Regions from separate parts of the Homo sapiens genome. Here regions 1, 2, 4 and 5 are each linked to region 3. The links are contacts of gene promoters, found by promoter capture Hi-C in blood cells and fetal thymus (Javierre and others, 2016). All regions are on one chromosome and are shown on one strand. Each heading gives the region's core, a stretch centred on a gene start or on the middle of the fragment in contact. The rest is flanking DNA. Distances are from core to core; before and after follow the strand shown.

The links. The method cuts DNA at HindIII sites, captures the fragments that hold promoters and counts their contacts. A CHiCAGO score of 5 or more calls a contact.
Region 1: a contact is called between a fragment that was not itself captured here and the fragment with the promoter of METTL13 in region 3, in 5 of 17 cell types (fetal thymus, non-activated CD4 T cells, total CD4 T cells and 2 more). The highest score is 12.8, in fetal thymus.
Region 2: a contact is called between a fragment that was not itself captured here and the fragment with the promoter of METTL13 in region 3, in 4 of 17 cell types (total CD4 T cells, naive CD8 T cells, non-activated CD4 T cells and 1 more). The highest score is 9.5, in total CD4 T cells.
Region 4: a contact is called between a fragment that was not itself captured here and the fragment with the promoter of METTL13 in region 3, in 6 of 17 cell types (fetal thymus, non-activated CD4 T cells, naive CD8 T cells and 3 more). The highest score is 13.5, in fetal thymus.
Region 5: the fragment with the promoter of RC3H1 here is called in contact with the fragment with the promoter of METTL13 in region 3 in 6 of 17 cell types (fetal thymus, non-activated CD4 T cells, total CD4 T cells and 3 more); the score reaches 11.9 in fetal thymus.

What each region holds. Positions count from the first base shown.
Region 1 is chr1:173,870,374-173,873,073 of GRCh38, reverse strand. It overlaps ZBTB37 (zinc finger and BTB domain containing 37), which reads right to left. Exons shown (of 5, transcript NM_001122770.3): 3 at 1,926-2,700. Among named protein-coding and RNA genes, the nearest start is that of ZBTB37, 3.3 kb to the right of the region's middle. The HindIII fragment of the contact is 2,862 bases long and covers 1-2,700 here.
Region 2 is chr1:174,162,474-174,165,173 of GRCh38, reverse strand. All of the region lies in intron 1 of RABGAP1L (RAB GTPase activating protein 1 like), which reads right to left. Among named protein-coding and RNA genes, the nearest start is that of RABGAP1L, 4.3 kb to the right of the region's middle. The HindIII fragment of the contact is 151 bases long and covers 1,282-1,432 here.
Region 3 is chr1:171,780,318-171,783,017 of GRCh38, reverse strand. It overlaps METTL13 (methyltransferase 13, eEF1A N-terminus and K55), which reads right to left and starts at 1,358. Exons shown (of 8, transcript NM_015935.5): 1 at 898-1,358. The coding sequence starts at 1,050. RefSeq lists enhancers at 1,012-1,545, 1,375-1,669. The HindIII fragment of the contact is 1,150 bases long and covers 971-2,120 here.
Region 4 is chr1:173,827,637-173,830,336 of GRCh38, reverse strand. DARS2 (aspartyl-tRNA synthetase 2, mitochondrial) reads right to left here. Exons shown (of 17, transcript NM_018122.5): 3 at 1,938-2,004. Among named protein-coding and RNA genes, the nearest start is that of CENPL, 4.1 kb to the right of the region's middle. The HindIII fragment of the contact is 914 bases long and covers 994-1,907 here.
Region 5 is chr1:174,021,009-174,023,708 of GRCh38, reverse strand. It overlaps RC3H1 (ring finger and CCCH-type domains 1), which reads left to right and starts at 1,352. Exons shown (of 20, transcript NM_172071.4): 1 at 1,352-1,613. RC3H1-DT (RC3H1 divergent transcript) reads right to left here and starts at 1,226. Exons shown (of 2, transcript NR_187284.1): 1 at 1,069-1,226; 2 at 519-926. RefSeq lists silencers at 1,117-1,366, 1,477-1,796 and enhancers at 2,003-2,542, 2,607-2,700. The HindIII fragment of the contact is 5,810 bases long and covers 1-2,700 here.

The DNA of each region.
Region 1 (2,700 bases), core at 46-2,545, 2.1 Mb before region 3:
ATTGATATAGATCATGGAGATTAAAAAATCTTTGCATTGAAATTGATATTACTTTTTTTTTTTTTTTGAGACAGAGTCTTGCTCTGTTGCCCAGGCTGGAGTACAGTGGCGTGATCCCAGCTAACTGCAACCTCCACTTCCTGGGTTCAAGCGATTCTCCTGCCTCAGCTGGCCCAGTAGCTGAGACTACAGGTGCGTGCCACCACGCTCAGCTAATTTTTGTATTTTTAGTAGAGATGGGATTCACCATGTTGGCCAGGCTGGTCTCAAAGTCCTGGCCTCAAGTGATCCACCTGCCTCAGCCTCCCAAAGTGCTGGGATCACAGGTGTGAGCCACCACACCTGGCCCTGATATTACTTCTGATAGTTTTTTTTAAAATTTTATTTCCATAAGTTATCATGGAACAGGTGGTATCTGGTTACATAAGTAAGTTCTTTGGTGATTTGTGAGATTTTGGTGCACCCATCACCCGAGAACTTCTGATACAGTTCTAACATAGGAGGACAAGTTCTATGCTCAAGATTATTTTAATAAGGACACAGGAAGACAATACTCAAATCAAGATCACCTGAAGCCAGGCACAGTGGCAGGAGAAACGCCTGAACCCAAGAGGTAGAGGCTGCAGTGAGCCAAGATTGCACCACTGCACTCTAACCTGGGCAACAGAGTGAGACTTCATCTCAAAAATAAAATAAAATAAGGCCGGGCGCAGTGGCTCACACCTGTAATCCCAGCACTCTGGGAGGCTGAGGCAGGTGGGTCACGAGGTCAGGAGATCGAGACCATCCTGGCTAGCATGGTAAAACCCCATCTCTACTAAAAACACACACACAAAAATTAGCTGAGCATGGGGGCAGGGACCTGTAGTCCCAGCTACTCGGGAGGCTGAGGCAGAAGAATGGTGTGAACCTGGGAGGCAGAGCTTGCAGTGAGCCGAGATCGCACCACTGCACTCCAGCCTGGACGACACAGCGAGACTCCGTCTCAAATAAAATAAATAAAATAAAATAAAAAGACCACCTGAAGTGGATACAGTATACACTAACTGAATCTCTGTGATACATTTGTTTCTCAAGACCAAAGTAATAGTTTTTTAGTTTTCTTTGCTCATATAGTCAATTTAAATTTATTTTTAAGAGGGAAAAAGAACAAATATTACCAATCTAAATTAGTAATATTTCTTTCAATTGAGACTTTCTCTCAATTGACTGAAACCCATGGTATTTCCACCAAAAAGAAATGTCTAATAAATACAATGTATTAAAAGAGAAAAGTGAGGCATGGGGCATAGCAGCACTGGTGAAAAAAAGGGAGATTGTCAGGCCTGTGGTAGCAGCAGTCATCCATGAAAGAAAACAGGGAAGATACCATCACGTGACAAGGGAAAAAAGAGATGAAAAATATCCATAACGCTTTTCTTCAGAATTACTATTTTACTAATTTGAAAAGAACAATTACTGCTGGTACCATACTTCCTCTAATTTGGTAGTTGGGGGCAAAGAAAAGCAAGCAGTGCTACAAAGGAAAGTGAGACTCCTGGAGGCCACCTACCTGTGTGATAACACACCAAGGAAGGGCAATGCTGCTAGGTTCCCAGCTGATGATCGGCTCCCTGCCTCGAATCCCGAGGAAGCCCTGGCAATTACTGATCCTATCCTAGTGTGGCTGCAGATGCTATTCTGATTCACGGAAGTGTCTAACTTTACCACAGTTCTCACAACATTGTGAATACTTCAGGAATGGAGCTTCCTGGTTTAAAAAAATAAGAATGCAAGTCTTTTGGCACACCTCCAGTTTCCCCATCATCAACTTATTTTGACCAAGAAAATCAGGTAAGGAAAATGCTCTCTGTACTACAGAGGACACTTTAGTGATGTCTACACAATAGCCATTACATGGGAAAACCAAACCAAACCAAACCTACCTGTCAACTTCACTGCTTGTTGGCCGAGCCACCTTGGCTCCTGAAGACCCTAAAGTATAATTTTCCTGTCCTACAGAACCATGGCCTGTGGTATCAATCACCATGGCTGTTACTTCCTCTGCACTACTCCCATCTTCTCCAGAAGGCTGATTCTCAGGCCCAAGCCACTCCTCCAGATTTTCAGTTTTGATGTGTACTGCTCCAAGAACTCTAACTTCATCATCACTCCGACCCCCACGGTCCGCCACTCCTGTCTCCACATACCACTGTCCTGCTCGGTTGATCCGAAGAATGGGCTCCCGGCTCTCTACATCAGAACTTGGTTCAATGATCTGAGGGCTGGTGGACTCCTCAGGAGGACTTAGCTCTCTGATATCCAGCACAGCACTAACCTGACCTCGCCGGTTTCCCTTTGGGGTATTATGTCGTGGGCTAAGGGAGCGGTTGAGATTTGGTGTAACCCTGTGAGACTCTGGAGGTCTCTCTTGATGCTTTGTCCTTGTTTGACTTAATTCTGCTTCAACCTCAGCCACATTAATTTTGAAATGAATGCCCTCCAGGATCTGTGTACATTTGTCTATAATATGCTGCATTTGCAGAAAACTGGCAGCTGTTAGGTAGCTGATGATATCTGCCAGTTGCAGGCATATCCGCCCTGTGTAACAGAAAGAAAGGAGCTGTTCAAAAACAGTAGGGTTCTTGATGACTGAAATGGAGACTGTACTCATCTCATTCAAGGACATGTGATCCCGGAAATAGGGGGAGCTGGCAGCCA
Region 2 (2,700 bases), core at 108-2,607, 2.4 Mb before region 3:
AAACAAACAAACAAAAATAAAAGTAATCTCTCCCTCCTCTCTAAACTCTTATAGTTCCTTATCTTTATCTTTTTACCACCCATTACTTTCTGCCTTTCATTATCACTGTTGTTTCCATATTTAATCCCCCACCTAAGCATAAAGTCCTCAGGGTCAAGGTCCATCTTTATTCAAACTGATTAACACAATCCCTTATACACACTAAGTGAGGTTAGGAAAGAAGCCCACCAGAAACAACTCCAGATTGAGTCCAGAGCCCTGGCTTTGCTAATAACTCACTATCTGACCTTGGCCTTGAGGCTCTTAGTATGTTCCTTCACTTACAAAGTTAAGAGGGTAGGCTAAACTAGTTGTATTTGTTGTTAAATGTAGGCTATAATCCATTAGCTGGGTGTAAAATTAATTTGGAAGTCAAAACCCAGCATTTTTAAAATGAAATGAAATAACAGAATATATCAATGTGTGTTATAAGCAGTGGGGTGCTATAAATGTTTAACAACTACCTATGAGGAGGGAAGCCCTAAGAATACCATTTGCTGAATTTCCTGGTGTAAATATTCCCACCATGACCAATTTTGAGCTACCAACATGATGTCACTGGACAAAGAGCTAGATAGGAAGAAATATGCACAACTGGTCTTGCAAGCCATTATAGCTAACTCAGTAGGGCCCTGAAAAGATAAATATTATTTCACCAAACTTTCAACTTTGTGTGTGTGTGCGCTTGCGGAATCAAGTAGTAAAATGTATTTTTTATTGTGGGTCACAGTCAAATGAGTTTAATAAATGTTCAGGTAAACAATCTCCTGGTGTCCTTCATGTATACTACATAATTTGATAAATCTTACTCTTGGTTACAGATGTCTCTTCACCACAATTCATATTTTTCTTCAAAAATGGGAGTAACAAACTGATATCACCAGAAGGCAAATTACACAGAGCAGGAATTTGGTTTATGGAATATCAGCCAAGTGCCAAGGTTTTTAGCATTTGTTCAGCCCTACATACCTGAAGGATATAACACACTCCTACTATCAATGGCTCACTTAGCAATGGGTTGGGGGGCAGGTAGGGGGTAAGAGGAGGAAATCCATAGTATAAAAAAAAAATCCAGATAATTCTAGTATTTGTGCTCATGTTCCCACCCCACTGAATACCCAGATACACAGAAAATTAGAGCAGTAAAAAGTAAATGTTCCATGCCTGATGTTTCCCAATCAAATTCCCTTGCATCCCTCAATGAGACTTCCATTACTAAGAATCACCTACTGGAACTAAGCTTTTACCATGGACTAGGGATGCATAGTTCTTGCTGAATTTAGAACAGGCAACAGGGAAAATAACACAGCAAACAGTTGTTAGGCTTCATATTCTGGGAAAATCAGCCTTTTATTAAAAAAAAAAACTGTCTTATTTTCCTCTTATTTAAGCTTACTAAACTGGGTGAGAATTTTCTTAAATATATTTTTGGCTGTACTATGTCTATCACAACACAGCCTGTAACCAGATTTTTCATGAGTATTTATAAAGAATTGTGTTGTTGTTGGGTTTTTTTTTTTTTTAAGCCCAACAGCACTGGCAAATGTTTTCTACTTTAAAAGCTATTTAGAAAATAAGAAGGCTCAGAATTTCAAGTATACTAATAATCTTAGCCCAAATCTAACTCTAAATCAACTGAATATATGCCTAGAACTTTCCCAGGAAAATCCCCAAAAAGTACACCAAAAAACACCAAAAGATAACAAAAAAGAGTTAGCATGCGCATAAACTTCGTATACCCAATTATGCCATCCCATCTGTTGAATAAGAGCAATATGGGAAGTAAACGAAGTATAAAAAGAAGATGTTCAGAGATGCAAGCTCTTCTTAATTCATTAACTCTTCCTTATTAGGGTCCACTGATGTTCACATACTTATACCCAATTCAAATACTGACTATAAAGTCAAAATTATTTCCCGTTCTGAAAGTCTAGGAGTCAAACAATGTCTTTCTCTATAATATCAGCATTAAAACTCTCCTTTAAAAATGAGTATGTTTTACCATAACTCAGGCTCAAGTCCGTACTTTCTCCGCCTCCACTGTTTGTAATGGCAAAATGCTCATCAGATCATCTCCACAAGAAACCCCTGAGCCATCTTTGAAATACCAGCACCTGGTGCGCTGCACCCACTAACTCATCATCTAGCATTAGGTATATCTCCCAATGCTATCCCTCCCCCCTCCCCCCTCCCCACCACAGTCCCCAGAGTGTGATATTCCCCTTCCTGTGTCCATGTGATCTCATTGTTCAATTCCCAGCATGGCACATGTATACATATGTAACTAACCTGCACAATGTGCACATGTACCCTAAAACTTAAAGTATAATTAAAAAAAAAAAAAAAAAAAAAAAAAACAGAAAGAGAAAAAAAAAAAAAAAGAAATACCAGCACCTGGAATAGCCTTGGGCTGCTGGTCATCCTCAGACTCAACGGCTGACCCATTTATATAAGTCAAGAGTTATAAAAATATAGAACTCATTAAAATTAAGACATAAGCAAGCTCTGTGCCTGGGAATCCCATAGGCTTACAGCAACAACTTCATTCTCCAAACCCCCTCTAACCAGTCATAATGATCCATACCCCACTTGAAGACAATGGTAGGTTGGAATGCAGGCCCACTTCTACACCTTCAATATAGGAAATTTTTGCTACTTAGC
Region 3 (2,700 bases), core at 109-2,608:
TGGCCACTCACCTGAATTTATGATGAGAATTCAAAGATTGCACATGCACATACACAGCACCCAACATAAGGCTTGGCACATAAAGCTTCCCCACAAATGTTAAGTTTTCTACCTTCCTCCTTCCCTACCTCCAGTACAATCTCACCTATACCAAACCCATTGTTGTACTTATCACGTTTCACTTCTGGAACATGTGCAGGGTTTACGTCTTAATGCTCTTATAGTTTAAGGACTGAGCAGTGCCTGAAACTTGGGGCGCACTCAACGACTATTTGAAAAACAAATTCATACACAAAGTCACACCTGCTGCAGGTTGCACAGGAATGCACAGTGACAGAAGAACATACTTTCAAGATGGGAAGTCACTCTTCAAGTAGGGTTATTAATCCAAGAATGAGCTGGGGTGGGAGGTCTATTATCTGAAAACCTTTAAAGAAATGTTTTTTTTTTTAGACAGGGTCTCACTCTGTCACCCAGGCTGGAGTGCAGTGGCGTGATCATGGCTCACTGCAGCCTCGACCTCCTGGGCTCAAGCGATCCTCCCGCCTAAGCCTCCCGAGTAGCTGGAAATACAGATGCGCGCCACCACGCCCGGCTAATTTTTTCATTTTTTGTAGAGACGAGGTCTCATGTTCCCCAGGCTGGTCTTTAACTCCAGGGCTCAAGCGATCCTCCCACCTCGGTCTCCCAAAGTGTTCGGATTACAGGTGTGAGCCACTGCGCCCGGCCTGAAAGAATATTCTAGTTTGTCTTTTAGCAGGAACAATGCAGGAAATGCTGAAATATGCGTCCAACTAGGGTCCTCCCGCCTGTCACTGTCCACCAAGTGCAAGATTCCTGTTACCAGTTCCCACCTTCCGGAGCACGTACGAAGGGCTACCAACCCGCGCTCCTCACCTTTTCCCTGGGCTTGATATATTTATGTAGCACCCCGCACAGTTCCAGGTAGGTTCCATACCACTCGAAAGCTTTCTTTCCTCGCTGCTGGAAGAACTTCTCCCAATAGTCAACGGAGCCAAACTCCCTGGAACTTTTAGGTAAGAGGTTCATGTTCCTACTGCCGAAGCTGCGTTTTCAAGACTCCCCTATTCCCTGTGAGATACCATTTGAGGAGCTTGCCCACCACACGCAGGCTCCGGGACACTGCAGTGGGAATTCTTTCCACGGAAAAACAGCCACATTGATTTGTTCCCCCACTCCAAACCCCAGGAATGACCCTTACACGACAAACGCACGCATGGACCACTGAATCTCACACACGCTTGCCCCCTCCTCCGCGCCTGCTGTTCCTTCCCCACGTGAAGAGCCCCTCACACTTTTCCCGAACTAGATTTCCGAGCCCATAACCATATCCGGGTGCGAAGCCTCGTGATTCGTCGGCCGGCCCAGCCCAACTCAGCTAGTCATTGGTCGCTGCTTTGCGTTTCTATCACCTCATTGGCTGCGACGTGCTTGCCTTTCTCCGGAGGCTCCGTCGCAGACACCTAAACGCTTTTTTGACCTGAGGCCGGCCGACCATTCACGGAACGGGGCGGGACCGCGGGCCGGAGTTGTGGCGGAAGAGGCCGGGCCTCTGTGAGAACTAGGTCACGTCCGGGTGAGGAGTGAGCGCGGCTGTGCTGTGGTTGGGCCCTCCCTCCAGGCGGGGCGGAGAGCGCGCTTGCTTCCTGGGCTCGGCCTCCGCTTTGTCTTGGAGCCGGCTTAATCACTGACTCCGATCGTGCGCCGCACAAGGGCGGAGCGCGGCAGGCGGGAGCGTACTGGTAGAGGAGGACGAAAAGAAAAACCTATACAGATAGGAGAGAAGTGAGGCAGGAAATGAGTAAAGCCAGTCCGTCGTAAAAACGCTGCACATTCTAACCTTGTCAGCTTCTGCGCACCAGCACCCCCCGCCTTATTTTGCCACCTCTGCACCAAAATATAGGATTCTGCTATCAAAAGTGTAATAACATGAAAACTCCCTCTTCCTTCTCTCCGCAAAGCACAGCATGCAAAACTAGCCTTTCATTTTGATAATTGGCCTCCTTGTGTTATTCTGACGTTATTTATAACTGCTTATTTTATGTGTTTGATAAACATACTGTACTTTCACATGCTCATGCTAATACCCTGAGGAAGCTTCTGTGAAGGGCACTTTTTTTTCAGACAGGGTCTGTCTCTGTCGCCCAGACTGGAGTGCAGTGGTGCAGTCATGGCTCACTGCAGTCTCCACTTTCCAGGGGTCAGGGGATCCTCCCACCTCAGCCTCCCAAGTAGCACGCCACTACCGCTGGCTAATTTTTTTTTTTTTTTTGTAGAAATGGGGTTTCGCCATGTTGTCCGGGCTGTTCTCAAACTCCTGAGCTCAAATGATCATCTCGCCTCACCCTACCAAAGTGCTGGGATGACTGGTGTGAGCCACTATGCTGGCAGGCACTATTTGAAAATGACCAAATATGTGTATCACTGGGCCTTTCATACCATGATAAATTGCAGGAGGAATATACTGATTGCGGAGAGCAGATAGGCTTGGAATTGAGCATGTGTGCTGTGGGCTGTTACATACTACACTACCACAGGTAGATAGCCAGGTAGACTGTTAATAGTTAAGTAGGTTAGATTGGACTTAAACATTGGTTTAAAAAAGTGATTCTCAAACTGGCATGCGTCAGAATCACCTGGAGGACTTGTTAAAACACAGAATTCCCCAGTCCAACCCCT
Region 4 (2,700 bases), core at 201-2,700, 2.0 Mb before region 3:
GCAGTTAAATCCCATAGCAATAATGGGTCAGAGTCAAAGGAGTTCTCCAGGGTTAGCTATACTCATCTCTGGATGTTGATCCCTAAAAGATAATTCATTGCTCTTTATTTATTTCAAAACTTAAGAGCTGAATAAATAATATTTTTCTTAGGCATACAAGCGTTAGTAAAAATTGCAATAGAAACCAACTTTGCCCAGTAAGTATGATGGAAGTTCTTTATTTTATCTAATTCTTTAATTTTAATTTTTTTTTTTGACACAGGGTATCACTCTGGTGTGCACTCTGGAGTGCAGTGGTGCAATTTTGGCTCACTTCAGCCTGAACCTCCTGGGCTCAGGTGATTCTCCCAACTCAGCCTCCCAAGTAGCTGGGACTACAGGCACATGCCACCACACCCAGCTAATTTTTTGTATTATTATTATTTTTTTGAGATAGAGTCTTGCTCTGTTGCCTAGGCTGGAGTACAGTGGCGTGATCTCGGCCCACTGCAACCTCTGCCTCTGGGTTCAAGTGATTCTTTTGCCTCAGCCTCCTGAGTAGTTGGGGTTACAGGAGCCCGCCACCACACCCGGCTAAATTTTTGTATTTTTAGTAGAGACGGGGTTTCACCATGTTGGTCAGGCTGGTCTTAAACTCCTGACCTCGAGATCCACCTGCCTCAGCCTCCCAAAAGTGCTGGGATTACAGGAGTGAGCCACCGCACCTGGCCAATTTTTTGTATTTTAGTAGAGACGAGGTTTCACTGTTGCCCAGGCTGGTCTCAAACTCCTGTACTCAATCTGCTGGCCTCGGCCTCCCAGAGTGCTGGGATTACAGGTGTGAGCCACCATGCCTGGCCTTGAATTTTTTAATTAAAAAAATTTTTTTTTCAGAATATCACTCTGTCATATTTTATCTAATTTCAATGGTAATTAAATTAAATACTTTTTTGAGCAGTAATACCGTCACATGGCTTCAAATTCAAGGGGTACAAAAAGATATAGTAAAAAGCTTCCCTCCTATCCTTGTTTTCAACGCCCTCAGTTCCTTCCCCCAGCAGCACCTAATGTTACCAGATACTTAGGTATCCTTCCAGAGACATTTCCTAACATATATACAAGCAAATACACACACACACACACACACACACACTGAATGTATATTCTGCATCCTTCCCCCAGTTTTTATACAGATGACAGCACTTAGAGTGCTGGAGTTTAACAGCTGCTCTTTTGTATACTCAAGAATACAGGGTTCTTCACTTAACAGTATTCCTTGGATTTTTTTTTCCCTATTAGAATAGAACTTCTTCATTCTTTTTTGTACGGCTGAGTAGAGTATTGTATTGTAAGAATATACATTATTTTTTAAGCCAGTCTCTTATTGGAGGACATCTGGGTGGTTCCCAATTTTTTTCCGTTAAAAAGAATCCTGAAATGAATATCCTTGTACATATGTCATTTTATATCTGTATAAGTCTAGATATAAGATAATTTACCAGAAGTGAAATTAATGGCTCAAAGGATATATGCATTTATAGTTTTGATATTGCCAAATTGCTCTCCCTTCAGCTAGTGCCAATTTGTACTCCCTCCAGGTATTGAGCACCTGCTTTCCCAAACACAGTGTGTTGTCAATCTAATGTGTTAAAAATGACAATTACATGCAGTTTCAATTCACATTTCTCTACCTATGAGTGAGGCTGGGCATACTTTCATTATGTCTACAAGCCATTTATATATTTTTTTCCTCTAAATTTTTTGTTCGTATCCTGGGTTCCTAATTCTACTGGGTCACTGGTCTTTTTGCTATGTCTTAACATTGCTTATATTTTTCAGTTTTCATTAACAATAAACTTCTGAATTTAAAACCTCTAACATATTCATCTAACTACTTAGCTTACCCCAGCAATAGCATCAAAGAAGCTTTTAGATAATAACAGGAAATTTTCTATTACCTCATCCTGGGGAATGATAACTTGAACAAGCCCATCGAAATCTCTTAGGACCAAGAATGTGTTTTGCCTGATTAATGGGGGGGGGGAAAAGAAACATTTTAAGATAAAATCTCTAAGTCCAAAGTTGAAGCATACAAAATAAAAAGCAAACAAAAATCCATGCAATTTTTCATGTTTCTTTTTTATGATAATTATAATTTTTCATGTTTTTTATGATAATTATGTACCTTCATTAGTTACATTCATGCAATTGTTATCTATGTAGCTCATTGCCAAAAAAAAGATTGTTTTTTATTTCAGTTTCAATTTTTATTGTCTACTTACCTGGTATATTAATCTTATACAGATGGCTTATTAATGAAAAATTATTATAGATGAACAATTAAAAGAAATTTCATTGGCTTAAGTCCTTTTAAGAAAATTTTATTAAATTTGGAAACTTTGCATATAGTAAAATCCAAAGATAGTATTTTAGCATAATAGAAACATCTGATGGATCATTTTTGAAATATAGCAATATAGTCTTTTTCTAAAAAAAGATACAATCTAACATTTTCTGGAAGAGTTCCAACTACTAATTTAATACCTCTATGAATCATCAAAAGGTCCCAGAAATGCCAACATTTTAACATCCAACCTCTATTTCTCATACTATCCTCAGCATCAGGAACAGGTACAGAAACCCTCTTCAGATTTGGGTTCAGGAAACAGTCACTAAACTTATGGGAAAAATATCCACCTACTTGGGACAAACTTTTTTTTT
Region 5 (2,700 bases), core at 103-2,602, 2.2 Mb before region 3:
GGGAGGAGGAGGAAAAGCAGGAGGAGCAGATTAATCTGTTTTTCCTAGCAGGGTACAGAGGCCTGGTCTGAGAAGGGAAAGGCTTTAAGAGATCCCTTTAGATTGGCACATGCTAACCTAAATCCCCCTGTGGTAGCTAGAAATTCACTCTCTGTAGGACTGGGGTTACTATTTAGTAGGCTGAAAAGACGATTACAGATTAAACCCAGTTCAGAGGCAGCAAATTCCAATCAGTGGAAAGACAACAATAGGTCTTCTAAACAGAAGCTGAGATCTCAGTAGCAGGAGGGTGCTAACAACTAAAAAGAATTCTTCTCTGCCAAGAGTTTAGGAAGGTGTGTGATATTTCTTAAAAATAATACAAAAACACTATCTGTGATAGCGATTCCAATGTATCAAGTTAAAGGCAGAAGTGCTTCTCTTGGGGTACTGTGATGTAAACAGTGAAGAAAGGACAGAAAAACATAATCTCTGCTCTCTTGGTCAAATCCTGAAGCAAAAAAGGTGATAGCGCCGAGTAGAGGTATTAAATGGTTGTTTATTTGGGGACTCTCTCTCTCCTCTATTCTAGATGATTTATTTTGAAATTAGTACTGTATGGTGTTACAATAATCCCATTTCTTCCCCTTCTCAAAAGCGAGGGTTTGGCTAAAATGAATTGTCTGAAGGGACCTCCCATTCCCCAAAACCAAAACGGCACCTTTTCCACAAGGGACAAGAAACTTTTAAAGAGTCGCAAGGTTAGATTTCAGGAGCCCTTCTATGGGCCATATCTTTTCCTGTCGTCCCCAAATAGCTCTTATTGTTCACACAGCCCAGGAGAGACGTTTTGGAGTAGCGTGTCCGGGCCTTTTGGGCTGTTTCACAGCCTTAGGAGGCTGAACTCCCAGAGGGGTGACGAGGACAAAGCTGATGAGATCCAGAACCTGGATAATATGGAAGAAGAAAAATGGGGTGGGGGACAAGACGTGAAAAAGAAACAAGAGTTGGGGGACAACGGCTGAGAAAGCCGAAAGAGTAGACGTAGTGTGGGGTTCGATGGAAACGAAAGAAATTCCCCCAATTTACTCTCGCCATCTGGCCACTGGCCCGCTGAGCCCAAAGGCGCCGGTGCGGGAGGGCAGACCGGACCGAGGGACCGGTTCATCTGCTCAGGGCGTGTGAGACTTTCGGTCGCGGCGGAGAGCGTCGCCGGTCTCCCTCCGGGCGTTGGTGGCCGGTGACTCAGAGCTTTGCTCCCGCGCCCGCCCCTCCCCTCCGCCCGCCCCGCCTCCTGAGGGAGGATCCTCGCCCTCGTCTCCGCCCCAGTCTCCGGGGCGGGCCGGAGCCTGAGGAAGAGGAAGGGGACGAGGACAACGAGCGACTGGGCGGCGGAGGACGAGGAGGAGGAAGAGGAGGCCGAGCAACAAGATGGCCCCTGCTGCAGGAGCAGCCTCAGCAGCAGCAGGTGGGAGGCCGGAGGCGGTGCTGGCGGTGGCGGCGGCAGCCGTGGCCCGGCGGCCTGGGACAGAATCAGAGTCAACGGTGGCCTCGGCGGCGGCGGCGGCTGCCGCGGCGGTGGCGACGGCCGCGGGGACTCGGAGCTGAGAGGAGCTGCTGCTCGGACCAGCGCGGTGAGCGAGCGGCGGGCGGCGACTTGGGGAGCGGGGCTGCCGCGGCCGGGGCCTCAGTCGGGAACAATAGGCAGCTGTGGTCGGGAAGGGTTTGTCCTCGCCCGCCCTCTGCTCCTCCGCGGCAGCGGCAGCCCGGCCGGCCCCAGGCTCCTCAGGGCCCCCGCCGGCTGTTCTGGGGCTTGTCAGTGGCCGGCGTCCTTTAGGCCTCAGGCCTCTGCATGCCGCCTGTAGGGCCTGTCGGGGTAGGTAGGCCGAGAGGAGGACGAAGGGAGGCTCGGACGAGAGGGAGGGGGCGAAAGGGCTACCTGGCTCCTGTGGTACTCCCAGGGCCTGGGCCAGGCGGGGAATGCGCACGGGAACTGCTTTTTGGACCCCTAGTCTGTGGGGGTGGGGGAGGGCGAAGGCGTCTGTAAACAGGCGCCGCCTCGGCCTCCCAGCACCTCAGGGCTGCTTCCTCCCCCAGCCCCTGAAGCGCTCCCCTTCTTTGGCCAAGTGGATTTCACGGTGTCTGTTTCCCTGAAGTCCCTGGAGATCTAGCCTGGTAGTCTTCTCCCTGCTGGCGATGGGAAAATTGTGTGTGTGCAGGTGTCTTTAAAAAAAAAAAACAAAAAACTTAAATGCAACAAAAACATATAAAATGTGGTTATCGGTAAAGGATGGAGTGGTAAGGGATGCGCCTCTCTAAACATCTCTAAGTATCAGTTCTATAAACATCAGTTATGCCCGCATCCCAGGTGAGAGTGGATTGAAACAAGGGCTCTTTTGGAACAGTAATAACACAACTCTTGACATACCAGAATAGCCTATGAAACTGGAAACAAACACTGGCAACGCGGAGACAAACTGTAATGTTTAAAGAGGACTTTTATTCCAGCTAGGCGTTTTGAATTACTAACATGCAGTATAAGAAGCAACATTAACTAGCATAAAGTGGACCTCAGGAAGCACTTCGAAAGGAGACAGGTGGTTCATCTCCGGCCATAGAGCTTCTTGTGCCTTGTCTCGTGTTTCAGTAATTTTTCCTGAAATTGTTCAAGACCAGTCTTTTCTCTGAGTTTGAAATTTGATTTCGTTTTTGTTTTGTTTT